Linked DNA regions of Homo sapiens: regions 1, 2, 3, 4, 5 and 7 are each linked to region 6. Evidence: promoter capture Hi-C in 16 types of primary human blood cells and fetal thymus (Javierre and others, 2016). All regions are on one chromosome and are shown on one strand. The core of a region is centred on a gene start or on the middle of the fragment in contact, and the rest is flanking DNA. Distances in the headings are between cores, read along the strand shown.

Region 1 (2,700 bases), core at 63-2,562, 810 kb after region 6:
GATCAGGAATAAGACATGGATGTCTGCTCTTGCCACTTCTATTCAACATTATACTGATGGCTCTAATCAAGGACAATTAGGCAAGAAAAAAAGGCAGCCAGATGGGATACTCCGACTATCATTATATACAGATTTTATACATAGAAAATGCTATGGAATCCACTAAGACTGTCACATACCACATGACACTGTTACCAGAGGCAACATTGTAGTACATCTTTCTTTTTGAGGGGGGAGAAAGAATGACAAGAAAAAAAAAAGAATCCTTTGTAACACAGGACTACTATCTTAAAATCTAAAACTCAGTCTGTGATATGTTCAAAAGAAATATTTAATCATAAAACTCCAAACCAACTAAAAATGTTCAATATTCTAAAATGGTACTATGCTACAAATTTCCAAAACAAAGAAAAGGCAGCTTGATGTAGTATGAAGTACACATGTTTTGCAGGCAACTGTATCTGAATTTTAATATTCATGGCTCGGTGTCACCTTTCACCTACAAGAAAGTGGGCAAATTTCTTGTAGGCTTGGAGAGGTTGTGACTCTCTGAAAAAAAAAGGGAATAATACACATGCCTGTCTGGGTGCTGCTAGAGTAAGACATAACACATATACAGCACTGAGAACATGGCAGGTGCTCAGAAACTTGTTGCTTTTATTTTGGGCCCTAAGTTTCTTAAAAGTTTGAAAGTAATCAAATATTTATTATAGCTTCTAAAAACAGTCAAAAATTGTGTTCACACTGACAAAGTTAACATAAAATATCTCATAGCAGCATTCCCTTTGGAAAGTACATCCTATTTTATTTTTATTTTTTTTGAGACGGAGTCTTGCTCTGTTGCCCAGGATGGAGTGCAGTGGCGCAATCTCGGCTCACTGCAAGCTCCGCCTCCTGGGTTCACGCCATTCTCCTGCCTCAGCCTCCCAAGTAGCTGGGACTGTATACAGGCGCCCGCCACCACACCTGGCTAATTTTTTGTATTTTTAGTAGAGACGGGGTTTCACCGTGTTAGCCAGGATGGTCTCCATCTCCTGACCTCATGATCCGCCCGCCTTGATTTCCCAAAGTGCTGGGATTACAGGCGTGAGCCATGGCACCCGGCCAGTACATCCTATTTTAAAACCTTACAAATGTTTGTATTCTTAGTCTCAACAATCCTGTATCTAGCAATTTACCCAGAGGAAACAAACAAAAAATGTATATAACATTATGATGTTCACTGCATCTATATCGGTAATTATTATAATAAACTATCCTGTTAAATTTAACAGGGCTAAGAAAATGATTTTGTAAGCTATAGTATACCAACAAAAAAAGACAATTGTGAAAATGACAAACTCATGAGATTTTTCCATGCGAAAAGAAACATGGAAAAAATGTTTATAGAAAATTGAAATTACAAGTATGTATAATATGATTTACAATAATGAAAATACATAATTCATATTTTTATACAAATAATAAAATTTGTATAAAATTTTATACAAATAATAAAATTTGTATAAAATTTTATACAAATAATAAAATTTGTATAAAATTTTATACAAATATATTTTACAAAGATATTATACAAAGACTAAACAGTTCAATGTGAGATTGGTATTACAGGCAATTTTTCCCTATTCTAAAAAATTGTACAATGTTGCCATAACTTTAATCTATGAGAATTATATATTCAACATAGTCATAATTTACACTCCTAGTAAGGCCATACTGACTGCATTCTTGGTAGCACAGCCAGCCTGGGAACTATGTACACTTTTTCCTGCAACACTGTATCAGGCAAACGCTTACTTGAGAAATTGGCTCTTAGCTGTACTTGGGTCACCAACAATGCAAACATTTATGTCCCCTCGAAGAGAGGTCCCTTCTCCTGTTGTCTTTGGAACGCCACCAAAGAGCATCAGCAGGACACCCCGTTTTACTTCATCATTGCCTGAAATGAAAAGAAGCTACAGATGAAAAACTAATTTTTCAACATGAAGTTAAACACTTTCAGAAGAAACAGTAAAGGCATGTTTACCAACCGAAAGGCAGAGTCAGCTAAAGCAAAGCATAAAACTGGAGTAATAACACCTGGCTTCCGATCTTGGTTCTTGTTCTGTGGACTTAGTCACCTAAACCACTGTTCCAATGTTTTCTCCTACACCACAGATGTCACCGTGCCAGTGCTCACCATCCTAAGAGCCTTTACTTGTCCATGAGTCCTACTTCCTACACAAAACCTTACCCAATGCCTTAGCCCTCAAAGATCTCTCCTGATAAATGAACTATGTCCACCAAGGCCTACCACATTTGCTAGTCCTTTTTAATGCCAGTTCTTATAGTTCTGTGAAGAGTTTGAGGAAATGGTTCATAACACTTTTCTATCACCTACAGTGACCAGCACTGAATAAATATATGTTAACTGAATTCATGTGGATTAAATAAGATGCTGAATGCAATTTACAGCTGCTTAGTTCATAAATCCAATAAGAAGGAAAAACAATTTTCTTAAAAAAGAACACTGTGCTATTAAAAGAAACATTTTTCTGTGGAACTGTCGACTCTCTGAACTCCATCAACAAAGTGCTATGCAAAGTTACACAAGGCATTCCTTAAAGCAGAAAATTAGGCTGGGTGTGGTGGCTTATGCCTGTAATCTGATCACTCTGGAAGATCCGAGCACTTTGGAAGGCCAAGGCGGGAGGATTGCTT
Region 2 (2,700 bases), core at 32-2,531, 930 kb after region 6:
CTTTCTGAGCACCAGATGTCCACAGTTTTTAGAAACTGGAGATGCTGGGTATAAGCTAACTACAACTTTCCTTTTGTAAAACATCATCAAAAAATTCACCAGCTTCCTGTTTCTAAAAACCAGATTCAGGATACCAGGTTACAGGAGTTTGACACTGACAATATAATAATATCAAATTTCTTGTTACAGATTAGAGTTAGGAACAGGAAACAGAAGACCTAGGGTCCAATCTGTTAACAAAATATACTTATTAAATAGATAAGTGGCCTTTATTTCAATCTTACTTTACCTCTAAAATGATCTAAGATTCTTCTAGCTATAAAATGGCATAACTCTGCCACAATGTCTACCTTGTATCTAGACCTATACTATCTGTAAGGGTACACTGATAGTTTATGTAATTAAGCAGATTAAGAGTACACAAAAATAATTGCCCTAGTTTTTACAAGGTAACTTAAGATCTGTATGAAACAATTAAGTTTCTGTCACTTTACAGCTACCTGTTGGAATCCTCTCCTTTAGAGCAGGAGGGTGCTGGATTTTGTGTTTACACCAAAATAAAACCAGACATGTTTAAGGCGCTTACTGAACAATTTAAAGAAAAAGATAACCCTGGCCAGAGTAGAGAGATACAGTCACACAATGAAGCCTGAGGGCAACAGAAGGAGATTAAATTGTGTGAAGGACAAAAAAGTTGCATTCATAATTAGTACTATTAATATTTCAGTGACTCTTCCTCATTTAGTATTCTAAGATGACCTTACTTCTCATGTTGCTTACCACAAACTCAGAACTCCTTATAGAAAAATTAGGGAGCCAGACGGAAATTAAGGCTTAACAGTACTACAGCACACATAACTTGTAGGATGGTTTCAAACTTTGATTTCTGAAAAGCACCGAAGGATCACTGGGTGTTATGAATTATCCACGTGATTTGGGGTCACTTCACCTCAAATGCATTCTCGGTAACTCCTATTACCTACCTTACCGGGTCACTGAGAGGGAGAAAGTAAATAAAAATGACATGTGTTCTTTAAAGCTGTCACATGGGAAATGGTCATTAAACATATTGGCAGATGGTTTTGCTAAGTACTGTCATTACTTGCTAAAGCATTAGGAACACGAGGGCTGAGTACATATCGATTACTAGTGCTTATTAAAATTTTCCCAGGGATTGTGCATTACGTGCAGGACGTGCCTAACCCAGAGAGACTCAAGTGTGACGCCGCGCTCCTACTTCCGGGGCGGCTGGTTCTTCCCGTCCTCCCCACCCCGGGGACACGCTTCTAGTAGGCCAAACTCCCAGGTGACCCCCGCAAGAAACGCGGTCCGGAGAGGGTCTGGCCCCACTGCTGGGGCAAGGGCTCTAGGCGCCCGGACCCCACGCCCGCAGCCTGCGGAGAACGTGCCGACAAGGACCTGTAGGGCCCCACTCCCCCTCCTCCCTCCCTCGGCGCAGCCCGGCCCAGGGGTCTGTCCTCCCAGGCCCAGGAAAGGAGGAAACCCACTTCCGCCGCGTCCATGATCTCCCGCGGCTTCTCCTGACTCTTGCGGCTGGCGCTGGCGCTGGGCATCGGGACACGGAACTGGGCAGTGGACACCACCCTCCCTCGCAGGCTTCCGTAAGGCAGGCCAAAGGGGCTTCTCCCTCCCTCCCAGTCTCCGCCCTCCCGACCCTGGGGTCTCAGCACACGCGCTCGGACTCCGCGTGGAGGTGCGGCTCCAGAAAGATCGCGAGAGCTGCGGCTATCTCGAGATCCCGGAGCGCTGGCGGCCGCGCGCAGGGTCTCCTCCCACTCTTGCCCCGCCCCTCCGGGAGTTTTCCCGGAGTTGGAGGGAATTCCCGGGAATTCGCGGTAGTTTCGCTGGATTGGCTCTGGGGGCGGGGGCAGGGGTTACCAGGTGGCTGGCTGTAGACCTGGGCGAATGCCAGCTCTCTTCAGCTTCGTCCCAACTGCGACTTCTGCTCCATTCTTCTAACAGCCCTTTCAACTCCGCTCGGCTGTAACCGCAGACTCGTCACTAAAACACCCACCTAAGCGCGGGCCTTGGTTTCTCCTCTCTTGGACTTTCCCGCCTTCTCTCTTCCCCTGGGCGACGTAGCTGCTTGGGGACGGAGGAGGCCTCTTCGCAATCCATTGCCCTGCTTGTTGGGACAGAGGAGTGCAGTTGGCTTGCCAAGGCAGCATGGGTTACCAGTCCCTGTGTAAGTGAGGTGTAAATACAGTGGCAACGACAACAAGAAACGCATACAATTGCATTGATTGCCTGGATCTGTTGCAGTGTTAGGGACAGTGCATAGTGTTGGTTGCCCAATGGGCGAATATCCCCAAGTTAGGCTTTTTTAAAAAACTGATTTTTTAAAAAAGCTATCATTCATGAGTTTTGAATCGAAATTGAAAATAATTTGGAGATTTGGTTTAATACTGTTTCCCCTGCCAGAGTTTGCACTCCGTCGTTTCAACTGACTTGGTAGTGTCTTAGTCTGGCACAAAGTGTTAAGGGGTGCACATAGATCCCAGCGCAAGTGAAAGGCTCTCTCTGGAGGCTCCCCCATGGAGTAGTGAGAAGACAGCCATGGTCCTTGCTTGCCTGTAGCTTTCCTTCTAATTGCAGGTGGTATGAAATTTTATTCCCTATTTAATTGATCAAAGATTATTTACAAACATCTACTTTGTGCCAGGCATTCTATCAGGTGCT
Region 3 (2,700 bases), core at 73-2,572, 770 kb after region 6:
GTATTCTACAAATATCAGTTATTGATAGTTCAATAGGCAACCTGACATTACCTTTTCTTGGAACTTGATGAACAACTCAGAAACTCATTAATATCAAACCCAATGGTGAGCACTTGGTCTTTATTTATGGCTGTAAGAGAAGAAATTGAATTAACTCTATGTAAATGCCAACTAAGAACATGCAAGTCTGAAATCAACAGTTTTCCTCGCTCATACGACACACCCAAACTCCAAGCAGTGGTTCCAAGCCCCTTTGGAAAATACCATGGGCTAACGACTTTAAAAGCTTAGAAGTGAATTCTACTTACTTATTACTTAAAAGTGGTTCTCAAACTTCAAGGTGAATCAAAATCATCTGTAGAGCTTGTTAAAACACAGGTTGCTGGTCCCACCCCAAGAGTGTCTGATGCAGTAGGTCTCAAGTAGGGCTCAAGAATATGCATTTCTAATGAGCTCCCAGGTGATGCTAATGTTGATGCTGCTGGTCTGGGGACCACAACTTTGGGAACAATTGATTTAGAAGAACTCAAAGATCAGAAAGGGGTGGAATATTTTTAAAATTGTGGTAAAATACGCATAAACAGAAAAGGTACAATTTTAACCACTTAGAGAGAGGTGGGATCTAAGAACAGAAATTGTTATGCCATCAAAGGTGAGTTCAGATAAGCATTATTAAATGGTATCTATGGATAAACTTCAGGGGCCCTGTGGAGCCAACCCATTGCTGGGATGGGGTCCAGGTGTGCTATGGTTTGGATGTGGTTTGTCCCTACAAAAACTCATGTTGAAATTTAATTGCCAGTGTAACATTATTGAGAGGTTATGGACTTTTAAGAGGCATTTGGGTCATGAGGGATCCGCCTTCAGGGATTAGTGCAGTCTCCAGGGAGTGAGTGAGTTCCCATTCTAGTGGGACTGGATTAGTTACCATACAGTGGTTGTTATAAAGTGAGGCTGCTTCTGGTGTTTTATCTGTTTGCAGGCACTTCCTTCCCCTTCCACTTCTCTGCCAGGTTAGGATGCAGCATGAGGCCCTCACCAGAAGCTGACCAGATGTGGCTGCCTGATCTTGAACTTCCCAGTCCCCAGAACCATGAGCTAAATAAACCTTTTTTCTCTATAAATTACGCAGTCTAGAGTATTCTATTATAGCAACACAAGACAGACTAAGACACAGTGGTAGAAAGAACACTACTGACTTCTCCCATACTCTGGCCTATGGACAAGAGTGACAGACAGACAAGAGTGAATATCAGGGCCCTCAGGCACATTCCTCTCTGCCCCTTCCTCCCTTCTTGCAGAGTCTCCAGTGACTGCCAGCCTCAATGCTATCATAGACCCCACCTTTCCCCTGACTTGATTGGACCAGAAGCAGCCTCCTGATCCATGGCCAACAATCAGATTCACTTTCAAGAATTTGAACTAAGAGACACTAGGAAGATGGCCCTTGAGCTGTGAGTCCTACACTTGAAAGTTCTTAGCATCTTGGTCAGGTACCCACCAGGGCCATGTGCAAACTGAGATAATGGGGACATGGAACAAGGGTAAGTGGAGAGGGCTGGCTGGAGAGAGACGGGCAGAGGAAAGCCCTGCCAAGAGGAGCAGAGATGAGAGACCTTGGAGGGAGAGGTAATAAAAGGAGGCAAAGATGATTTTCCATGCTTACAACTCACAGCTGAGGCCTAACTATCTTTATGTCCATAAGAGGCATCCTTGTGTCGAACCTCTCCTCTTTCTTGGGTCAATGGGGGATGGTTGCAAGGGACCATCAGTAGGAAGGCATAGTACACTAACCCAGTCTGGGGTGGGCTTTTATACTAGTCTTCCTCCCATGCTCCTCCTCCCATTGGAACCCCGGACTTTCAAGACTGCTACCTAGCACACCAGTGCACCAGATGTCACTCAAAACCTCTTCAGCAATGGCCCACTCACCTTCAAAAAGGCTGAAGAGCAGACTGGCTGGGTTCTTCATGGTGGAGGGGCAGTCTGGGAGTTTTAGGTTGAAGATGAAAACTTTCACTTTTGGCTCAATGGTCTGAAAAAGAGAAGGACCAGCAAGTGAACTGAAGCCTCCTGGAAAGCATCTTGATAACAGGGACAGAGTTTCAAGATGAGAAGCTGTGGCACTTACTCTGGCTTTGGAAATGACCTCTAAGTATCTCAGTTAATTAAAGGAGTCAACTCTAGACTCTGAAGGAGAAAGATCTACAATTTTCAATAACATAGTCTACCCTCCCCACCAACCCCCACCTTCACCTCTTCTTTCATCACAGGCTTACAGGGCACCTCTTAGAGCCAGGCACGGTGTTAGGATCAGGAACAAGGCCACTGCTCACATCCAGAGCCTGTGCTACTTAAGAAGCTTAGTTAAGAGGCCACCATCTATGGATGTCTGGGATTTGCTTCAAAATAATCCAGTTTGGTTAGCTGGGTGTGGTGGTGCATGCCTGTAGTTCCAGCTACTTGGGAGGCTGAGCCAGGAGGATCGCTTGAGCCCAGGAGTTTAAGGCTGCAGTGAGCTATGATTGCACCACTGCACTCCAGCCTGGGTGACAGAGCAAGATCCTGTCTCTAAAAAAAATTTTTTTTAATTAAAAATCTAGTTTGGGAGATAGAAGTTATAGGTTAGGTGAAAGAAGATTAGCTATGAGCCAATAATAGCTCTTGCAGCTGGAGATGGCTTCGTAGGGGTTCATCATT
Region 4 (2,700 bases), core at 45-2,544, 830 kb after region 6:
ATGTGATTTATGCTGAATACCTGGAAGTCTAAAATTTTTTTTTTTTTTTTTTTAAAGACAGGGTCTTGCTGTGTCACTCAGGCGGGAGTGCAGTGACACAATCACGGCTCATTGCAGCCTCGACTTCTTGGGATCAAGCGATCCTCCTGCCTCAGCCTTCCAAGTAGGTACATGCCACCACGCCTGGCTAATTTTTGTATTTTTTGTAGAGACGAGGTTTGGCTGTGTTGCCCAGGCTGGCCTCGAACTCCTGGGCTCAAGCGATCCTCTTGCCTTGGCCTCCCAAAGTGCTGGGATCACAGGTGTGAGCCACCACACTGGGGCCTTTTTTTTTTTTTTTTTTGAGACAGGGTCTTGCTGTGTCACCCAGGCTGGAGTGCAGTGACACAATCATGGCTCACTGCAGCCATGACCTCCTGGGCTCAAGTGATCCTCCCACGTCAGCCTCCCACGATGTGCACCACCATGCCTGGCTAATTTTTATATTTTTTGAAGAGACAAGATTTCCTCATGTCACCCAGGTCAGTCTTGAACTCCTGGGTTTGGGCAATCCTCCCAAAGTACTGGGATTACAGGTGTGAGACACCATGCCCAGCCATCCATGATTCTTTTTAAAAAATTATTTTAGAATAGCTTTGGATTTACCAAAAGTTGCAAAAGATAGTACAGAATTTTCAAATACACCTTGCCTATTTTCCTTTACTGTGAATATCTTACACTCTTATAATACATTTATTACAACTCAGGAACCAACTTTAGTATGTTAGTATTAACTAATATTGCACAATTTATTCAGATTTCACCAGTTTTTCCCTACTGTTCTTTTTCTCTTCCCAGATCTCATCCTGATGCCACATTACACTTAGTGGTCATGTCTTCTTAGACTCTTCTGGTTTGTAACAGCTTCTCAGACTTTCCATAGTTTTAATGCCAATGTCTCTCAGTTGGGATTTGTCTAACGTTTTTCTCATGATTAGACAGTGATTATGGGTTAGGGAAGGATGATCACAGAGGTAAAGTATACGGTTTCTTACCATTACCTTATGATTTTGAAGCAAAACATTGTATCTTTTCATTTGTAGATATTTCAGAATGATTTTCTAAAACATAAGGGTTCTTTTTCCTGAGACATGTTTTTAGCTGGGAAGGAAACATCCTTCAAACAGCTGTAGCAGTGCAGGTTAGTGATGCTTATTATTTTAAATATAACTGTAATATTTTCCAGAATCACTGACACTTCAACTTACACTAAATAAAACCAGCAGATTAAAAAGTTACATGATTTGTTGTGGGTGGTGTGCAATATTCAATAAGATATTTCTCATATTATGAAATATTTTCTTTCAATGCAGTCAACCCTCATCTTATAAAATATTTGGTATATTTTACTTCTTTTTTATTTATTTATTTAATTTTTTGAGACAGCATCTCACTCTGTCACCCAGGCTGGAGTGCAGTGGCACAATCACAGCTCACTGCAGCCTTAACCTCCTGGGCTCAGGTGATCCTCCCACCTCAGCCTCACAAGTAGCTGGGACTACAGGTGTGCACCACCATACTCAGCTAATTTTTGTATTTTTTGCAGAGATGGGGTTTCACCATGTTGCCCAGACTGGTCTCAAACTCCTGGGCTCAAGCTATACTCTTGCCTCAGCCTCCCAAAGTGCTGGGATTATAGGCATGAGCCATTGTGCCCAGCCCGTTCTACTTCTTATTAACAACAACAACAACAAATGTATGCTAGCTGCTAACCAGTTTTTAGCAGTATGACTTTCTTCCTAATTACTTAAATAAGCAAAGTTTGATCTTGATATCTAACAAAATAAGTTCAACTATGATGTCTAACAAAATAAGTTCAAATAATGGCAATTTTTAGTTATTTTTATATGATTCTTAGTTTTTCCAAAAGCTGAACACCAGAATTCCATACACACACACACACACACACACACACACACACACACACACACACAGAGTTAATTTTATGTGCCAACTTGAGTGGGTCATGGGCTGCCCAGATTAAATATTATTTCTGCTTGTGTCTTTGAGGGGTTTCTGGAGGAGATTAGCATTTGAATAGACAGAATCTGTATAATAGATTGGCCTGCCCAGTGTGGGTGGGCACCATCCAGTCAGTTAAGGGCCTGAATGGAACAAAAGACAGAGGAAAGAGGAGTTTGCCCTCTTTTCCCTGCCTTACTGCCTGAACTGGGACATCTTGTCTCATCGTATGCCTTCAGATAAGATTTACACCGTTGTCTCCCCTGGTTTTCAGCCCTTCAGGTTGAGACTGAACTACCTACCAGCTTTCCTGGGTTTCCAGCTTGCAGATGCCAGCTCATAGGATTTCCCAGTCTCCTAATTGCATGAGCCAGTTCCTCATAATAAATCTGCCCCCCCCCCCCTCCTATTAGTTCTGCTCTCTGGAGAACCTGGCTAATACACTCACTTTTAACTTTCATATACTCCTCAATTCATAATAACCTATCATTTTAAATATACTTTACATTATATTATAAATTAAGAAATATGAAGCTGCATACAAATTTACTCTTGTTTTATAGCTACCATAAAATGCTTTTATGTCCCCCTTAAGATCCTCCCAGGTTCACTTGTCTGTCATTCAGCTCCATATGGGCTCTGAGTCGCTCATTGATGACTCTTGCCCTCTGTGGCTCTCAGGCTTCTCCGTCGTCCCCA
Region 5 (2,700 bases), core at 118-2,617, 740 kb after region 6:
AGATAAATAGATATCATAAAGAAAAAGACAATCGGCTGGGCGCAGTGGCTCACACCTGTAATCCCAGCACTTTGGGAGGCCAAGGCAAGGGGATCATCTGAGGTCAGGAGATAGAGACCAGCCTGACCAACATGGAGAAACCCTGTCTCTACTAAAAACACAAAATTAGCCGAGACCATTCTGGCCAACATGATGAAACCCCGTCTCTGCTAAAATACAAAAAAAAAAAAAAAAAAATTAGCCAGGCGTGGAGGTACGCGCCTGTAATCCCAGCTACTTGGAGGCTGAGGCAGGGGAATCACTGGAACCCGGGTGGTGGAGGTTGCAGTGAGCCAAGATTGTGCCACTGCACTCCAGCCTGGTGACAGAGCGAGACTCTGTCTCAAAAAAAATAAATAAAATAAAAACTGTTACTTAAAAGGTGAACCAAAATCTTTTACTATCTCTACTTCATAAAAGCATTGTTTAAAAAGAGAAAATAAAATTTTACTCTTGTATTATTGTAATATTTATTAATATTAAAGCGAATTTTGATAAAACCTAAACAATTTTTTTCTTGAAAATCCTTTTTAACAACCAAGCATTTTTAGAGTTAAGCAGCCTGTGAAAAAGAACGCAAAATAAATAAATTTTAAAAATGAAATAAAAAAACAAAAAGCCAAGCACATGTGCCCTAATGGGAGGTGCCCTGGAGACCCCGGCCTTCTCTCCCTCTTGCTTGCTGGAGATTTCCTTGGGATCTGTGGGGTGGCGAGCATCTTGCAAACCCCGGCACATTCGGCGTTGGAGGCCCTGTTTTGAGGCTGGGCAGGCCTCAGAGAGCACAGCCAAGGGCACCTTTCTGCCTTTTCCAGAGATGGCTCCGGGCTCCCTGTTGGTGGACTTACCTGTCTGCATCAAAAGAAGAGATGGCAGTGGCATAGTTGAGGTTGTAGGCGAGGACAGTGGTGTAGTGATTGAACCCAAAAAAGTCATAGGTGCCGTTGATCCTCCTCTTCTCACTCTCTGTAAATTCTGGCAGCCTGGGTGGAAGAAGCCATTGAGGGCAGGGCTTCAGGGAGAGCCATGCTTTGAGAAGAGAACGTCATAGGGCTGGGGCGGGGGAGCTCTCCGAACCCCAGGCACTTGGCAGTGAGTAGGGGAAACTGGCAGGGAAGGAGAAGAGGTCCTTCAGGCGGTGCAGGAAGCACTGCGGCTCCTCCAGCCAGACCATAAACCTGGCTTCCCTAGGTCTCTACAAGAGCCTCTGAAACCTGAAGGACCACACACACACGCACCCACGCGCGCGCGCGCACACACACACACACACACACACATGCATAAACAGTTTTTAATTTCCTTCAAACAACATATGCAAATTCTGATATTTAGCATCTATGACAGATTTCAAAATCAAGAGCATGCCTGAGGTACATATCTGAGACTCTTCCCCTATGTTTGTAAAGTTAGATCTTGTATAATTTTTTTTTTTTGTGGCTGAGTCTGGCTCTGTCACCTAGGCTGGAGTGCAGTGGCGCGATCTCAGCTCACTGCAACCTCCGCCTCCTGGGTTCAAGTGATTCTCCTGCCTCAGCCTCCCAAGTAGCTGGGACTACAAGCGCCTGCCACAACTCCTGGCTGATTTTTTATATTTTTGGTAGAGATGGGGTTTCACCATGTTGGCCAGGCTGGTCTTGAACTCCTGACCTCAAGTGATCCGCCCACCTCAGCCTCCTAAAGTGTTGGGATTACAGGCATGAGCCACCACACCCGGCCCTGTATCTTGTGTAATTTGTATTTCCGTTTTCTGCCCTTTCCAAGTTTCTCTGCTCCTCTTGGGGTTTGTTTAGGCATGCCTCTTTTCTCCAACTCTAATAATAATAATAATAATAATAATAATAATAATAGCTTCAAGATCTTCAAAGTAGCAGGGGAAATAATTTGCAAATTGAGTATTTGAGTTTGAATTTCTCAGTTCTCACGATTTCACTGAACTTTGTTTTCTTTCTTCCTTTTTTTTTTCCCAGACAGGGTCTCGCCCTGTCCTCCTGAGGACACTGCACGCCCCCTGAGGCTGGAGTGCAGTGGTGCAATCATAGCTCACTGCAACCTCAGTCTCCTGGGCTCAAGCAATCCTCTCACCTCAGCCTCCCAAGTAGTTGGGAATATAGGTGTGCGTCACCATGCCTAGATAATTTTTAAATTTTTTGTAAAGACAAAGTCTCACTATATTGCCCAGGCTGGTCTTGAACTCCTGGTCTCAAGCAATCCTCCTGCCTCAGCCTCCCAAAGTGCTGAGATTACTTGTGAGCCTGGGAACTTTGGCTTCTTAACCTGTAGATGGAGCATTTTCCAGGCACTCTGAGTGAAAAGCCTCTCCTGTAGAACCTGACTAATACACTTGTGTGCAGCATGTACAGGTGATCCTGAATGCATGCGCATGCCCACAGGGAGACCTGGGGCTTCTGGTTTAGGTGTGGCCCAGAGATGCCCTGCTGAGGCCTCTGACACTTTCATCTTGACCTTTCTGCTACCATTAACCTGAGGGATCAAGAACCTTCCTTCCCTGGGGTTTCTGAGATGATGGGAGAAAACCAAAGCACAGCCTCCTCCTGTCCCTGACGCTTCTGCTCAGAAGCCAGCAATGGCCTGTGGCACCAAAGCCAAGGCCCTGTGCTTGGCTTCCAGGCCCTCCACCATGTGGCCTCAGCCCCTTCACTG
Region 6 (2,700 bases), core at 86-2,585:
ATTGACGGAGCAAGGCAGTAGTACAAGGGGCTACGCATTTCCTGATGCATAATTTTTGCCCTAGCACTTCCAGTTGGACTTCAGAGACTTCGCCAGCTTGGAATTGTAGTGTCTGCTTTTTTAGAGCACCAGTCTGAAAAAAAAATAGTGAAAAAGCAAGCTGCAGAGTGGGAGAAGGTATTTGCTACATATATAAACAATATAAAGCTCAGATGCAGAATATATATAAATAACTTGAAGGTGTTAAAATAAAGACAAGGCCAGGCACAGTGGCTCACACCTGTAATCCCAGCACTTTGGGAGGCCGAGGGGGGCGGATCACAAGGTCAGGAGATCGGGACCATCCTGGCCAACATGGTGAAACCCCATCTCTACCAAAAATACAAAAATTAGCTGGGTGTTGTGGCGCATGCCTGTAATCCCAGCTACTCGGGAGGCTGAGGCATGAGAATCACTTGAACCCAGGAGGCAGAGATTGCAGTGAGCCGAAATCGCGCCACTGCACTCCAGCCTGGCGACAGAACCGAGGTGGGCAGATCATGAGGTCAGGAGATCGAGACCATCCTGGCTAACACGATGAAACCTCATCTCTACTAAAAATACAAAAAATTAGCCGGGCGTGGTGGCGAGCGCCTGTGGTCCCGGCTACTCGGGAGGCTGAGGCAGGAGAATGGCGTGAACCCGGGAGGCGGAGCTTGCAGTGAGCCAAGATCGTGCCACTGCACTCCAGCCTGGGCGACAGAGCAAGACTCCGTCTCAAAAAAAAAAAAAAAAAAAAAAAAAAAAAAAAAAAAATGAAGCGTTTGTTGAACACCATGTTGCTCTTCCCAGAAACCAGGTAACTAGTATGATTTTATTTCAGGACAATCAACTGAGCAACTTCTTGCAGGGTCAGGGGCAGAGGGTAGAAGTGGTATTACAGCACCTAGTTTATTGCCTTACAATCAATAAATAGAGGGTGAATGAAAAGAAACCCAATAGTTAAAGTGTAAGCTAATTGGTACTAACTACAAATATGGGTTGAATGAAAACAAACCCAACATGCTTTAGGTTTTTTAATACAATCTTATCCACATGAGTTTAGGGTCTTGTCCTATCACCTTGGCTTCTGTTCCCTTTCTGTATTCATCACAGGAAATTTTCAAGTTTTATGAAACCAGCTAGAGCGGAGTTTTATTAACCAGCTGAGGGCGGACTAAAGACTTAACAGACCTGGGCGAAGAAGCAGCACTCCTACTTACTAGGGCAAGACTCATGAACAGGGGGCGGGGGCTCCGGGGGCGGGGACGCGCCCCGTTCTCTTTCGCTCTTCTTCCCGGCAGCCTTAGCGCCAGGCCCGGCGCTCCTCAAGATGGCTGCCGACAGTGAGGTGATTTCTTTGCTCCCTACTTAATCCTTGTCACTATCTAAATTCGTTCCTCATGTCTTCGCCTTGGGGCTTAATTTCTTTTTCTCTCCTTCCCCTTCCCGCAGCCCGAATCCGAGGTATTTGAGATCACGGACTTCACCACTGCCTCGGAATGGGAAAGGTGAGTGAATCGCATTTTTGGTTACCAGCTCCCATGGGCCCTGGCGTCCCCTAGCCGCTTCCCTGACCCCAGACACACCACAAGTGACGCCACTTGTGCGGGAACGGTAATACCGTGGGTCCCGGGTCTCCTCCCCCAGTCTTCTTTGGTCAACCGCAAGCCTCTTCCGCGTCTCGCGTCTGGCAACACCCGGCCCGCCCCCGTCAGCCAATCCCTGAGGCTCAGGCTCTCAGAAAGTTTTGTTTTCTCTCCTGTCAGACCGCTTCCCTTAGACTTTGGTTTTCTGGTTGTTACCCACTCGCAAGAAAAATTTCCGAGGCTGCAACAACCGTTCCGGTTTTCATTACCGTTTAACTCATTATCGTAAGCAGTAAACTTGGTAGGTTGTGCCGCACCTCATCCCGTGTACGTTGGTATACCCTTTTCAGGAGGAAGTCTTTCTTCAGAGTATTGGTAGTTGTCCATCTGTCACACTCCCACCATCTCCATGCTGTCTTTAATTTTTTATTTTTATTTATTTTTGGAGACAGAGTCTCAGTCTGTCCGCCCAGGCCGGAGTGCAGTGGCGAGGTCATAGCTTACTGCGGCCTCGAACTCCTAGGCTCAAGTGAAGCTCCCGCTTTAGCCTCGGGAGGAGCTGGGACCACAGGCACGCGCTATTACGCCCAACTAATTTTTTAAAGATCTCGCTGTGTTGCCCAGGCTAGTCTTGAACTCCTGGGCTCAAGCCTGGGCCGCCCAAAGTGCTGAGATTACAGGCGTGAGCCTCCGCCCATCCTGTCTTTTAGAATAACCTTTTTAAAAAGTCTGCATATGGTTTTGGAATGCTTTGATTTAAGTTGTTACATTAAAGTGGGTACTGTGCCCAGGCTTCCTGTGCCTGTCAAATTCAGATGAACAGCTGTCTGGGTGAAACTGTTCTATTACTGAAATTAGTTGAAAGCCAAGTTTGTGGAGGAGTGATAGCTTAGATCGAGAAGGTTTCTGTTAAGTGTCACAGAAACCCTTCAGTTTCCTGGGTGTTGAAGTCAGTGTTTACGCTGTTACAGCATTTTATAATCTTTCTGGTTGGGAGAGGAAATTTGTGGATGTCGTGTCATTAGGTGGCACAGGAAAATATAAAAGGTCCTTGTTGGAATAATAGTTAGACCTGTGGTACCCTTCATAAAAG
Region 7 (2,700 bases), core at 2-2,501, 720 kb after region 6:
AAAAAAAAAAAAAAAAAAAAAGAGGGCCCAATAAATACCTGTTTTCCAAAGACAGAAATGATTTGTAACCAAATGAATATAATGTTTATCTCATACGTATTAGGATTCTTTATTTTTCAGAATCCCCTATCCGATAGGATTAAGCAAAAGAGGAAATACATTGGCTCTGCAGTTCAGAAATCCAAGGGTGAATTTGGTTAGGCATAGCTGTGTCCAGCAATCTAAAGGATACCATTACAATTTCTCTCTCTCTTTTTAATTCTTGGTTTCTTCTGTTTTAGCTTCATTCTTAGAGAAACTCTCCAAATGGTGTCAGGAGAGCCCAGCACCTCCTGGCACTTTCAGGACCTTGAATTCACGATCCCAGACAGAAGAGATTAACCTTTTCTCTCTCATGCCTGTATCAGTCACTGAGAATTCTGACTGCCCCTGTTTGGATCATGTGGCCACCTTCAGAGTAGTCAGTGTCCACATGTGTGGGCCCTCTGGTTGGAGGAGGTGACATGCCCAATCTTGTGGTGAAGGAGGTGGGGGAAATGTTATTGATAATTATACCAGAACGAATGACACATAGCAGGGTAAGAAGGCAGTTCCCAAAACAAAAATATGTTGAAAAGACAAAAAAAGTTTAGATTTCTAGTACACCTTGCTAATTGGATTATGGTTAATACTTATTGTCTTCTCTGTGCCTTTTCATATTTCCATATTGGACAGTTAACAAGTAGTATTTTGTAATCAGAAAAATTTTTAAAAATAATTTTCCAAAAATAATGAAGTAATAAATTTAACAAAAATGTAAGATTTGTGTGCTAAAAATGACAAAACATTGTTGAAAGATTTAAGACCTAAATACCTGGAAAGTATCCTATGTTCATGGATAAGAATACTTAACATTGTTAAGATGATAATCCTCCCTAAACTGATCTAACTGATCTATAGATTCAACACTCCTATCAAAATTCCAGCTGGCTTTTTTCCATAAATTATAAACCTAAAATTCATATGGAAATGCAAGAAACACAATAGTTAAAACAAACTGGAAAATGAAGATAGATGACTCATACTTCCTGATTTTCAAACTTACTGCAAAGCTATACAGTGATGTAATGGTATAAGATGAACATACAGGTCATTGTAATAGAATGGAGTCTCTAGAAATAAACCCTTACATTTATGAACTGTTTATTTTTGAAAAGGGTACCAAGACTATTCAGTGGGAAAGAAGAATCTTTTCAACAAAAGGTGCTTGGACAACTGAATATCTACATGCAAAATAATGAATTTGGACCTTTACCTCACACCATGTACAAAATTAACTTAATGGATCATCTACCAAAAAGTAAAACTATAAAATATATATTCTTAGAGGAAAAAAGAGGAATATATTTTTGTGATCTAGGAGTAGCCAATGGATTGTTAGACATGGCACTAAAAGCACAGGAACAAAATTTAAAAATAGGTAAATCGCACTTCCAAAATTTAAAACTTTCGTGCTTTGAAGGATATCATCAAGAAAGTGCAAAGAAGCTGGGCATGGTAGCTCACACCTATAATCCCAGCACTTTGGAAGACTGAGGCAGGCGGATCACTTACGGCCAGGAGTTCAAAACCAGCCTCGCCAACGTGGCAAAAAACCGTCCCTACTAAAAATACAAAAATTAACTAGGCATGGTGGTGCACACCAGTAATCCCAGCTACTCAGGAGGCTGAAGCATGAGAATCGCTTGAACCAGGGAGGCGGAGGTTGTAGTGAACCGAGATTGCGCCACTGCACTCCAGCCTGGGCGACAGAGTGGGACTCTGTCTCAAAAAAAAAAAAAAATGCAAAGAACAACCCATAGAATTGGAGAAAATATTTGCAAATCATATATTTGATGAGAGACTTGTGTCTAGAATATAAAAAGAACCTGTGACTCAATTATAAAGACACCCAGTTCAAATATGTGGAAAGGATTTGAATAGACATTTCTCCAAAGAAGATAAACAAATGGCCAGTAAGCACATGAAAAGATGTTCAACATCATTAGTCATTAGGGAAATCAAGTCAGAACCACAATGAGATACCATTTCACACCCACTAAGTATGCCTAAATGTAAAGAGAAAGTAATAAGTGTTTGTGAGGATGTGGAGAATTTGGAACCTTTCTGTGTTACTGGTGGGATTGTAAAATGATGTAGCCACCTTGGAAAACAGTTTGCCAGTAACGCAAAATGTTAAACATAGTGTTATCATAGGACCCAGGAGTTCTACAGCAGCAGTTTATACAGCAGTTTATATCCAAGAGAATTGAAAACGTCAACACAAAAACCTGTACATGAGTATAGCAGCATTAGTCAAAATAGCTAAAATGTGGTAATAACCCAAATGTCCAGCAACTGAAGAATGTGTAAACTGTATCTCATACAACAATGTTTTTCAGCAATAGGAATAAGAACTGATACCTGCAACAACATGGATGAACCTTGAAAATACAATTTCCATGAAAAAAGCAAGTTACAAAGGTCACATACTGTATGATTCTATTACACAACATGCCCAAAATAGACAAATCCGTAGAGATAGTAGATTAGTGGTTGCCAGGGTCTGGAGGAGGGAGGGATGGGGAGTGACTGCTGATGGGGTTGGAGTTCCTTTTTGGCATGATGAAAATGTTCTGGAATTAGATAATGTTGATAGTTGCACAATTCTGAATATATTTA

The links. Contacts are between HindIII fragments. The CHiCAGO score rates a contact against its expected background, and 5 or more counts as called.
Region 1: a fragment that was not itself captured here is called in contact with the fragment with the promoter of RAB3GAP1 in region 6 in 4 of 17 cell types (total CD4 T cells, naive CD4 T cells, erythroblasts and 1 more); the score reaches 6.3 in total CD4 T cells.
Region 2: a contact is called between the fragment with the promoter of DARS1-AS1 here and the fragment with the promoter of RAB3GAP1 in region 6, in 1 of 17 cell types (naive CD8 T cells). The highest score is 5.9, in naive CD8 T cells.
Region 3: a contact is called between a fragment that was not itself captured here and the fragment with the promoter of RAB3GAP1 in region 6, in 2 of 17 cell types (total CD8 T cells and naive CD8 T cells). The highest score is 6.2, in total CD8 T cells.
Region 4: a contact is called between a fragment that was not itself captured here and the fragment with the promoter of RAB3GAP1 in region 6, in 1 of 17 cell types (monocytes). The highest score is 5.3, in monocytes.
Region 5: a fragment that was not itself captured here is called in contact with the fragment with the promoter of RAB3GAP1 in region 6 in 2 of 17 cell types (monocytes and naive CD8 T cells); the score reaches 7.2 in monocytes.
Region 7: a fragment that was not itself captured here is called in contact with the fragment with the promoter of RAB3GAP1 in region 6 in 10 of 17 cell types (naive CD8 T cells, total CD4 T cells, fetal thymus and 7 more); the score reaches 7.9 in naive CD8 T cells.

What each region holds. Positions count from the first base shown.
Region 1 is chr2:135,860,810-135,863,509 of GRCh38, forward strand. It overlaps MCM6 (minichromosome maintenance complex component 6), which reads right to left. Exons shown (of 17, transcript NM_005915.6): 8 at 1,798-1,939. Among named protein-coding and RNA genes, the nearest start is that of MCM6, 14 kb to the right of the region's middle. The HindIII fragment of the contact is 8,903 bases long and covers 1-2,700 here.
Region 2 is chr2:135,983,895-135,986,594 of GRCh38, forward strand. It overlaps DARS1-AS1 (DARS1 antisense RNA 1), which reads left to right and starts at 1,282. Exons shown (of 4, transcript NR_110199.1): 1 at 1,282-1,622. DARS1 (aspartyl-tRNA synthetase 1) reads right to left here and starts at 1,732. Exons shown (of 16, transcript NM_001349.4): 1 at 1,509-1,732. The coding sequence starts at 1,574. RefSeq lists a silencer at 1,369-1,428 and an enhancer at 1,479-1,578. The HindIII fragment of the contact is 7,953 bases long and covers 1-2,700 here.
Region 3 is chr2:135,821,969-135,824,668 of GRCh38, forward strand. It overlaps LCT (lactase), which reads right to left. Exons shown (of 17, transcript NM_002299.4): 4 at 1,933-2,035; 5 at 52-130. It overlaps LCT-AS1 (LCT antisense RNA 1), which reads left to right. Exons shown (of 2, transcript NR_045486.1): 2 at 1-1,119. Among named protein-coding and RNA genes, the nearest start is that of LCT-AS1, 3.1 kb to the left of the region's middle. The HindIII fragment of the contact is 2,076 bases long and covers 285-2,360 here.
Region 4 is chr2:135,879,948-135,882,647 of GRCh38, forward strand. No RefSeq gene overlaps it. Among named protein-coding and RNA genes, the nearest start is that of MCM6, 4.9 kb to the left of the region's middle. The HindIII fragment of the contact is 3,748 bases long and covers 1-2,700 here.
Region 5 is chr2:135,793,754-135,796,453 of GRCh38, forward strand. It overlaps LCT (lactase), which reads right to left. Exons shown (of 17, transcript NM_002299.4): 14 at 888-1,022. Among named protein-coding and RNA genes, the nearest start is that of LCT-AS1, 25 kb to the right of the region's middle. The HindIII fragment of the contact is 5,560 bases long and covers 1-2,700 here.
Region 6 is chr2:135,050,957-135,053,656 of GRCh38, forward strand. RAB3GAP1 (RAB3 GTPase activating protein catalytic subunit 1) reads left to right here and starts at 1,336. Exons shown (of 24, transcript NM_012233.3): 1 at 1,336-1,369; 2 at 1,474-1,529. The coding sequence starts at 1,352. RefSeq lists an enhancer at 1,909-2,048. The HindIII fragment of the contact is 10,130 bases long and covers 1-2,700 here.
Region 7 is chr2:135,773,038-135,775,737 of GRCh38, forward strand. The region is part of intron 9 of UBXN4 (UBX domain protein 4); the gene reads left to right. Among named protein-coding and RNA genes, the nearest start is that of UBXN4, 33 kb to the left of the region's middle. The HindIII fragment of the contact is 6,305 bases long and covers 1-2,700 here.